3 separate regions of the Homo sapiens genome follow, and all the other regions are linked to region 1. Evidence: promoter capture Hi-C in 16 types of primary human blood cells and fetal thymus (Javierre and others, 2016). All regions are on one chromosome and are shown on one strand. The core of a region is centred on a gene start or on the middle of the fragment in contact, and the rest is flanking DNA. Distances in the headings are between cores, read along the strand shown.

Region 1 (3,194 bases), core at 233-2,732:
CTGAGTAGCTGGGATTACAAGCATCCACCACCATGCCTGGTTAATTTTTGTACTTTTAGTAGAGATGGGGTTTCACCATGTTGGCCAGGCTAGTCTCGAACTCCTGACCTCAGGTGCCCGCCTCAGCCTCCCAAAGTGCTGGGATTACAGGCGTGAGCCACCATGCCTGGCCACTTTATATATTTTAAACTTATTAAAATGTACAAAAGAGAAACCTGAAGAAAAACAAAATGATATTAGAATACCCCATTTATGCTGCATTTTAAAAGATGCAAAGAAATACATACGTTTTAGGACCATTATGTTGTAGGAAAAGAGACTTGCATTATTATTTCCTCATTCCTTAACTATGGAGGTCTTTTATACCCATATTTTATTAGTACCTTCCTCATAAGGTTGTTATGCAAACAAGGTAATGCATATCTAACCTCTGCTATGGGGCTTGATGCATGTTACCCAATAAAGTTAGCTGGCTGTTATAATTTCTTTCCAAAGCTAAGGAAAAAGACCATTGTGGAGGCACAGAAAGCAAATTAAGAAAATAAGTCTCTGACTTGGGATGCAGGCAACTAATGTCTTCCACGTTTCCTATTTGAGAGCACTTCCATGACACCTGGGTTATATATTAATGTGTTCATAATATTGGCCTTTGTTTCTAAAACTTCCCACTATTATGAGGGCCATTGGGGGCTTTCTAAAACATGGTCTTAATAAGAATCAAATTGAATCTGATTAAAGAAAACAAATGTTAGCAATTGTTTTATAAACTTAAGTATATAGTCTGAAAACTAGATCTATTGATGCAAAGAGATACTAAAAAAACTCACACCAGCCAGCGATTATCTCATCTTGCTGCAGATAGGAGGTGAAAAATACCACACTGTATTATAAATGAGCGCATGCAGAATGTGACACGTCAGGCTGGTATTCTGTTGTGCTTCCTTAACAACCAAGCAATAGCTTATAGGAAAGTTCTTGGCTCTGCTGAGTCAAAGTCCCAAGAACAGGATGCTTTTTATCCATGAAGTGACTCTTGAAGAAGTAAAAGAAGTCTAAGTTCCACTCCTTAAGCAGTCTTTGGGTTGGATCTTGAAAACCTTGCTGGGAGGAGAGAGAAGCTAATTATGAAACAAAATGGAAACTTGCATATACAGGAGAAGATGACAAGGTGTCTACTTACAGCTTTTACTCCAGTGGTGATGGGAGCAGGGTGAGAGAGATAATAAGCACTTAAATGATACCACATGAATAAAATAATTTCAGACAGGGAAATGTTATGAAGAAAACAAAATACAGTAAGAGTGATTGGAGCATATTAGGTAGGGTAGTTGTAGAATACAGTGAGGTAATTTAATGATGCAACAATAGTGCCTTCCACCAAGTTTGTGTAAGCATAAAGATATCAGCACATAAGAAGAACATTCATGAAGAGACCTTAAAAGCAGATGCTTGGTGCAAAAGTACTCATGCCAAGAGATTCTCTAATAATGCGCAATGCATCACCTATCTCAAAAGAGGCTCCCCAAACCCTCGGATTTATTAGGACTAACTGGCCGGTCTCTTACTCTCCAGACAAAGTACTTACACTTTCTTCGCTGACAGCATTCTCTCTTATTAATTTATACCCATATGGACCGAAAAAGCTTTCACTTATGACATAATATAGAATTTGCATCTATCTCTACAGTAACATGACCCATTTTTCCCCCTTCATTATGCCATAGATTTCTACTTTTTCTCTCTCAAGTTGCAAAACAACTATTTCTAATGATGGATTAAAAACCTGAAGCTGCTATTCCATTATGAACCTCTATCTAGTAGCTACTGCAAACTGCTCAGCTCCTTTGCTTGAAACCTCCAGGAGGGCTCTGGTGAGTAAGAAAAGCAGAAGAAAATTGCTTCCGGGATTGCTGGGTAAGAACTGCCTCTGGTGCTCTCTGGAGCATACTATCTCTTTATAAGAAGCAGACAAACCAGGAGTCAGGGGGGAGTTCACATCAAATCACCTTCAGAAGCTGTCAACAGTCCCAGAGAACTACCTTAGTGGACGGAAAGAAGGATGCGGAAAAAGGAGAGATGATGCAGCCTTGCTTTACGTTTGCAAATTGGATAAATAAGGAAAATATTTAATTCTTTAAAAAAATGTTAAATAAATGGGAGCTTTTCAACTTGAGGAGTGCACTGTAATAGAGTGATTACATGAAGGGAGCTCTGAAAAACTGCCAAGACTTTCTTTGTAACTACTTTTAAATATGCATGCCACTTCTTTTTTTTTTTTTTTTTTTTTTGAGACAGAGTCGGGCTCTGTCACCCAGGCTGGAGTACAATGGCACAATCTCCGCTCACTGCTGCCTCCGCCTCCAGGGTTCAAGCTATTCTTCTGTCTCAGCCTCCGGAGTAGCTGAGATTACAGGTGTGCACTACCATGCCCAGCTAATTTTTGTATTTTTAGTAGAGACGGGGTTTCACCATATTGGCCAGGCTGGTCTCGAACTCCTGACCTCAGATGACGTGCCTGCCTTGGCCTCCCAAAGTGCTGGGATTACAGGCATGAGCTACACGCCCGGCCACATGCCACCTCTTTTTTAAGAGACTGTTTTACACATAGGCTTATTATTGGGATCTACTGTTATGATTTGTCTTCCTAGCAGCCTTAGAAACATCTTTTTCTTTAAATATTTTAATAATTAATCCTGATCTCTAAGAAAAAACACAGTCCATTGTAGTAAGTGAACTAGAGAATCTTCTAAATTTTGCAGTGTTGTCTTTATAGTCAGCCTAACCTTTCTGAAGAACTTACTAGATCCTAACTAGACCCTTCAAAAATCTTAAATGCCAGAGAAAATATTCTACTGTCTAATCTTTACATTTTTAAGGACTTCTTCTAGGTTTAAAAGGCTGCTGAAATGTTTGATCCCTTTCATAGTGGATGGTTAATGTAGCATCTTTGAAACTGGTTGAAGAAGGAAAGATAACTATTTTTTATTTTGAGTGGTGGAATTTTTATTTCTGTTTTTTCTTTTCCAAACTATTTTTGCTATGCACATTGAGAGGTAGGCCATGTTTTTATAATATTTATGCATAAGTATTGGTTGTATGTGTTATAAATACCTTAAATTTGTTGGTAGTTTTGAGGATTGAGATATCATATTTATACCATTATTTAGAAAGGCCTTGAGTATTTTAAAACTATA
Region 2 (3,194 bases), core at 467-2,966, 280 kb before region 1:
TGGTAGGTGAGGACTTAACTCTTGTCGTTTTATTGATGGTTTTCCGGTTGTATATTCCTTTCTCTTTAATCCTCCTTATTGTTTATTTTTGTGGCTTAGTGGTTTTCTGTAGTGATAAGGTTTGATTCCTTTCTCTTTCTCTTTTGTATATCAGCTCTACAAGTGAATTTTATAATTTCATTTGTTTTCATCATGGTGGTGGTTATTGTCTTTTCACTTCCAGATCTAAAACTCTCTTGAGTGTTTCTTGTAAGGCTAGTCTTCCCTTAGCTTTTGCATATCTGAAAAAGACTTTATTTTCTTTCATTTCTGAGGAATAGCTTTGCTTATATTTAATAAAGAATATTAAAGCAATATTCTTTACTGGCAATATTTTTCTTTTAGTACATTGAATATATTATTTCTTTTTTTCCCGGCCTGTAAGGTTTCTGCTATCTGCTGTTGGCCTAATGGGTATTCCCTTATATGTGACTTGACGTTTTTCTCTTGCTGTTGTTAGAATTCTTTCTTTGTATTTGACTTTTGACAATTTGACTATAATGTGCCTCAGAGAGGAACTGTTTAGGTTGAATCTCTTTGGGGACTTTAAGCTTCTTAGAGCTAGATGTTCATCTCTTTTCCAAAACTTGGGAAGTTTTTTGCTGTGATTTCATTAAATCTGTTTTCTATACCTTTTTCCTTCTCTTCTCCATCTGGAGTTCCAAAATGCAAATATTTGTTCACTTAACAGTGTCCCATACATTCTGTAGGCTTTCTTTATTCTTTTTTTTTTGTCTGCATGAGTTATTTCAAAAGGCCTACCTCCAAGTTCAGAAATTCTTTCCCCTGCTTTGTCTAATCTGTTGTTGAAGCTCTTGATTGCATTTTTTATTTTATTCATTGAATTCTTCAACTCTAAGATTTCTGTTGGGTTTTTTTTTTTTATGTTCTTTGTTGAATTTCTCATTCAAATCATGAATTACTTTCCTGATTTGAGGGAACAGTTTAGCTATATTCTCTTTACCTCACTGAGCTTCCTTAAGATTATTATTTTCAATTCTTTTTATGGCATTTCACATATTTCCTTATGATTAAGGTGTGTTACTGGAGCATTATTGTGTTCTTTTGGAGGTATCATGGTTTCTTGTTTTTTCATGTTTGATATGTTCCTTGATGTTGATTTCTATGCATCTGGTAGAACAGTCACCTCTTCTAATTTGATGAAAGGTTTTGTAGGGAAAGACGTATTTGTATTGGAGGATCTTATAGTGTCAGTTAGGGGGGGTGTGTTGGCTTTGGTTCTAGGTGGATGCAGTACTGTAGTGTCTGTGCAGATTCTTCAGCTGTAATCCAGTCTGCTGATGTTTGTAAGTGCCCAGTGGCCTAGGCTGTGAGAATTTGTAGCAGTGGTGGTGCAGCTTTGCTGGGGTGGGCTCACTGGATTGTTTCTCAAATTGGGGGCATGTGTGTGAACGGTGTCAACCAACTTGGGGTCTTGCTTGCTGGGATTGGGGCCACAGGGATGTTTCTCAGGCCCTGGGTACAGGCATGCTCATTTGGCCTGGGGGTGTGTCTGCCAGAGGTGGGCCAAGTGGGCTGTTTCTTGGGCTTGGGACAGTGGTGTGCCTCTCAGCCAGCCAGGGGGTGTGTCCATGGGGGTTGACCCCATGGGGCTCTTTCTTAGGCCCTGGGCATGGTCATGTGACAGCTCACCTGGCCCAGGGGTGTGTCTACTGGAAGTTAATCTCCCAAGCTGTTTCTCAGGCCCTGGGCATGGGCACAGGGCTGCTGGGAAGGTCTAGGGACATGTATGCTGGGATTGGGCCCACTGGACTGTTTCTCATACCCTAGCCTGGGCACAGTTCCACTGGGTAGGCCTGGAGGCATGTCCATGGAGGTAGGGGGCATTGGGCTGTTTCTCAGGCTTAGGAGATAGGCTGGTACTGGTTCTGGCCTGAGGGCATGTCAGGTGCTTAGCAGCTCAGGGGCCCAGTTTGGCCAGCTCAAGGGTAGGTATGTATGCTTTGGGAGAATTTGCTAGACTGTTTCTCTGCCTGGAAGTTCAGGCAATGATGGTTGGTTTTCCTGCTGTGCAGAACCAGAGTCACAGCCAATCCTGGGCCCAGGTTCTGAGCCTCCAGGGTTGTGGCATTGCAGCCACCCATGTGTGCTTGGTGGAATGACAGAGCCGCTGGGCTGGAGAGGTGCATTTGCTACTGGGCCCCACAGCAGGCACCTAAGGGGTGGAGAGTACATATCTCATGTTCCTAATCCAGAGGAATGCAGCTGTGCAATCGACAGTGGCTCTCTAAAGTCGGTTCAGGGCTTGTGAGGACTGTGGAATTCTCCTGTAGTAAGGATTGTAGGTGTTTGCAGTGGTAATGGGGGCTGATGGGGCTCTGCTTACGTTTTCCCAGCAAAGGAAAGTTTCTCCTCTTGACTCCAGGCCAGTCAGAGTTGGGGGATGCAGGGGCATGGGCAGCAGAGACAAGGTGTCTCCATGCTGCCTTCTGGACTTTCAGTGACCGCAGCTACCCCCACTGCACTCCAGTGCTCTTCCTTTGACACTTCAGTTGAATGTTAACTGTTTGTTCATTTGTTGATCCTTTCTTGGGGGGATGAATGCCAGGAACCTCTAGTCAGCCATCTTGCTGACATCACTCTTATGTAACTTCCCTTCCTCGTCAAATGCTGTTTTTCATATTTATCCCTGCCAATAGAAGTAAATCCATTTCTTTACCTTTAACTCTGAATAGTAAGTAATATTTCATTGTATGAATTAATTAGTTTTGTTCCTTCTTCTACTAATGACAAATTAGGCTTTCCTCAAATTTTTTATCCTTTTCTACGTATTTAAGCTTCTGTAGGGCCTGGTTCTTAATTTTTTTGGTGCCATATGCCTTTTTGACCCTCTGGTAAATCTTCTGGATCCCTTCTCAAAATAATGTTCATGGAGGCATAAAATACATAAAACAAATTATTTTTAAGTAATTATCAAAGTATTAAAAACAAATTTATAATACAAATGCCTATAAATTACATCTATTGGTAACTCTAACAACTGCCATAATTTTGAAGTAATGCTGAATTTAGATGGATTTTAAGATATTTCAATATTTGTAATATAATTTTTACTAGGACAGTCCCAGGTATTTTATACTGTTGTGTTTTGTTGCCTACATTCATAATTGAAGGAAATTCTAAATTTCAGCTAG
Region 3 (3,194 bases), core at 325-2,824, 260 kb before region 1:
GGTGAAACCCCGTCTCTACTAAAAAAATACAAAAATTAGCCGGGCGTGGTGGCATGCACCTATAGTCCCAGCTACTTGGGAGGCTGAGGCAGAAGAATCTATTGAACCCGGGAGGCGGAGGTTGCAGTGAGCTGAGATGGTGCCACTGCACTCCAGCCTGGGTGACAGAGCAAGACTCTGTCTCAAAAAAAAAAAAAAAAAAGTTAGTGGCATCCCTTCCCCAAACCATACATTAAAATGAGCATGATAAAATGAGTGTTATGTAAGAAGTATGCGTGGGATGATAAGGAGAGCTTCATGACTAAATGAAGCCATGTTCTCATGAAATGAACATATTTGAGATTTAAAAACTAGAAGCAGTTAAATACCTAAAATATGTGGGTCATATGATAAGGGCCTATGTAATTAAAAAAACCTATATTTTGTTCTCTTAAATTTGTCAATTGAAATTTTGACGGGGTGGTGGGGTCGGGGAGATAGCCAGAAGTTGGTTAATGGATACAAAATTACAGCTACATAGGAGGAAAAAGTTTTAGTGTTTCACAGCACTGTAGGATAACAATAATTTATTGTGTATTTTCATATAGCTGGAAGAGTGGATTTTGAGTATTTCCAACACAAATGATAAGTGAGGTGACAGATATGCTAATTACCATGATTTGAACATTATACGTTGTATACATGCTTTGAAATATCACACTGTACCTCATAAATATGTATAATCATTGTGTCAACTAAAAATAATAAAAGCAAAAAAAGAGTTTGATAAACGCTGTCATATGTGAACAGACAAGTAATACTCAGGGCACCCAGATGACATGGATAAGCCACACATTGTTACTTTGGTTTTTGTTTCAGCCCTTTCTCTTAATTTGTTTTTTTCACTGTTACCAGCAGAGTAGCAAAAAAGATGATTTTTCTCCTTCACTCTCTCAGAAGAATGAGAAGATGTGCTTCTAAATTGTGATGACTGCCAAAGGTAACAGCAAGAGAGGAAAAACAAGAAGCAGATGTACCATCAATGATTAGACTTAGTGAGTTCTAGCTCAGAGTTGATGAGAAGCCCTCATGCACTTACACTCAGAATAAAATTCTCCCATTGGCTGTCATTTTTATTGCAAGCTGCCTATAGAGACAGGTAACAGAAGCTGCAGTGTTCTGTGTGTTTTGAAGAACTGCTTTCCAACTGTGAGTAGACTGGAGTGGGGGTCAGGGTGAGGGCACTAGTGGAGGGAATGCAGAGAAAAATCCCATAGCAAGATTCACTGAAGGGCAGGACTCTAACTGGGGGGGTTCTCTAGGTCTCCTAAAACCTGGACTTCTTTAGGGCTATAACCACCCAGAAAAGGCAAAGACACATAGGAATGTAATACAGACAGGAGAAGAATGAGGAATTACCAAAGAGAGGTCATCACAAAGAAACAAACATAACTAGTTTTATACCACTACATATGTGACTCCGTCTGGCATTCACGGTGTTTGCTATTGAGGTCATAGTTAAAACACTGTGTTTCCTGAAAATTTCCAAGGAGACATGAAGTCTAACATTATGAAGGAGAATTATTTCTAGCTCAGATTAACTGTACCTGAAGCACAGGCCACTTGATACAGATTCTTATGCTAAACTCTTGGCAAACATTTGGGATTCCCTAAACTAGCCTGAAATCTAAAAATTAATTTCATCCAAGTTCTCCAGATCTGTACTTGCTGTAGAAAATCTAGATGTAACTTGCTTAGAAGACCTCCATCATGAACTATCCAACTGATGCATCATACAAGATAACACATGAACACTTAAAATTAATGATTCTTTTTGGAGGTTGAGGACAAGGAAGTGTGTGTATTGTTTTACACAAATAGCTTCCAATTGTCCTGATGTGGGATATGGCTTCCTTATTATGTGCTTTGCGGCTTCCATGATGAAATGCTTATAATTTGGATATATCCTTCCTTGTGATATGAAGCTCAGAAGATCCATGGTAAGTTAAAATGAACTAATCATTTATGCGGTTAGAAAAAGATATAATGTAAGTTAAATTCAGACTTAAACTTGAATTTGGAAAAGGAGGTATGGGTTGTTACAAACAGTCAAACAAACACACCTCACTAACCTGGATTTGAGTGCTGACTTTTCCTAAAACTTTGAGCAAATCACTGAATTTGTTCAAGCCTTTGTTTCTTTTTCTGTACAAATAGGGATGCTACATATATCTCTCACAAGGATGTTTTAAGGGTTAAATGATGTAACCTAAATGCTCTCATAAATATCAAATGGTATGTGACATCATAAATTATCATTATTAAATTCCTCATAGCTGGTACTGTGTTATCATGGGTCTGAGACATTATGCATGGACATGCATCAAGATGGTTTTTAGGAGCCCCAGCAGCTTGGCGGACCCCAGCAAGAATTTCCATGTGAATATACTTTACATGAGGTATATGCTTACCTCCTTCTAAAATTCTTTCATATTTAACCACTATCTCCCCTGCCACTTAGTGCTCTTAATCCTGGAATGAGCCTTAAATACCTTCGTATTGCATTCAGTAGCTCTGGAATCAGTCTAAGTTTGTAAACCAGTTCTGCTGTCCCTTACAGGTGAGTGACTTTAGGCAGGTAACTTAATCTTTCTAAGTTTCCTTCTCTGTAAAACAAGGCCATATAGTTAATACCTAATGGGTTCTTATGAAGATTAAAGGCATTAATACTTGTAAAGCACCGGGCAGCATTGTGTTTTGCATGAAGCCAATGCTCAAAATGTTAAATTATTGTAGCACTCACTATGGATATAATTATAATAACCAGTTTTGAGGCATCCTTTAGAATTGTTTATGTAATGGAATTTTATTTTTCTTGGTATTAGAATGTAATTTACTCCAAAGGAAAAACAAAATACCTTTGGCACAGGAGGCAGACTATGTGGGAAGCAGATTAACCTTTTTAACTTCTGCTGGTGCTTGAAAGGTGCTAAGCACAATCATACTGAAATGTACTTGTTAGTGTGATGGCTGCATTTGATGTGGAGGAGGAAAAATATGCCCTATTCAGCTCTAAACAGATCCTTGATATGCTTAGCCTGCCTCTTCCTCCCCTCTCAAAAAAAAAAAAAAAAAAAAAGTAAACAGGTTGGCATACTACTCTGGAAAGGTCACACATTTCTACACTGTTTTCAGGGTTTTTGCTGCTACTGCTT

The links. Contacts are between HindIII fragments. The CHiCAGO score rates a contact against its expected background, and 5 or more counts as called.
Region 2: a fragment that was not itself captured here is called in contact with the fragment with the promoter of PALLD-AS1 in region 1 in 1 of 17 cell types (monocytes); the score reaches 5.5 in monocytes.
Region 3: a fragment that was not itself captured here is called in contact with the fragment with the promoter of PALLD-AS1 in region 1 in 1 of 17 cell types (endothelial precursors); the score reaches 6.2 in endothelial precursors.

What each region holds. Positions count from the first base shown.
Region 1 is chr4:168,646,875-168,650,068 of GRCh38, reverse strand. It overlaps PALLD-AS1 (PALLD antisense RNA 1), which reads left to right and starts at 1,482. Exons shown (of 2, transcript XR_001741449.3): 1 at 1,482-1,577; 2 at 1,725-2,173. The region is part of intron 2 of PALLD (palladin, cytoskeletal associated protein); the gene reads right to left. The HindIII fragment of the contact is 4,235 bases long and covers 1-1,645 here.
Region 2 is chr4:168,929,972-168,933,165 of GRCh38, reverse strand. It overlaps a transcript of CBR4 not described here. Among named protein-coding and RNA genes, the nearest start is that of CBR4, 79 kb to the left of the region's middle. RefSeq lists an enhancer at 1,837-2,338. The HindIII fragment of the contact is 2,247 bases long and covers 593-2,839 here.
Region 3 is chr4:168,910,145-168,913,338 of GRCh38, reverse strand. The region is part of intron 15 of PALLD (palladin, cytoskeletal associated protein); the gene reads right to left. It also overlaps a transcript of CBR4 not described here. Among named protein-coding and RNA genes, the nearest start is that of CBR4, 99 kb to the left of the region's middle. The HindIII fragment of the contact is 3,838 bases long and covers 1-3,194 here.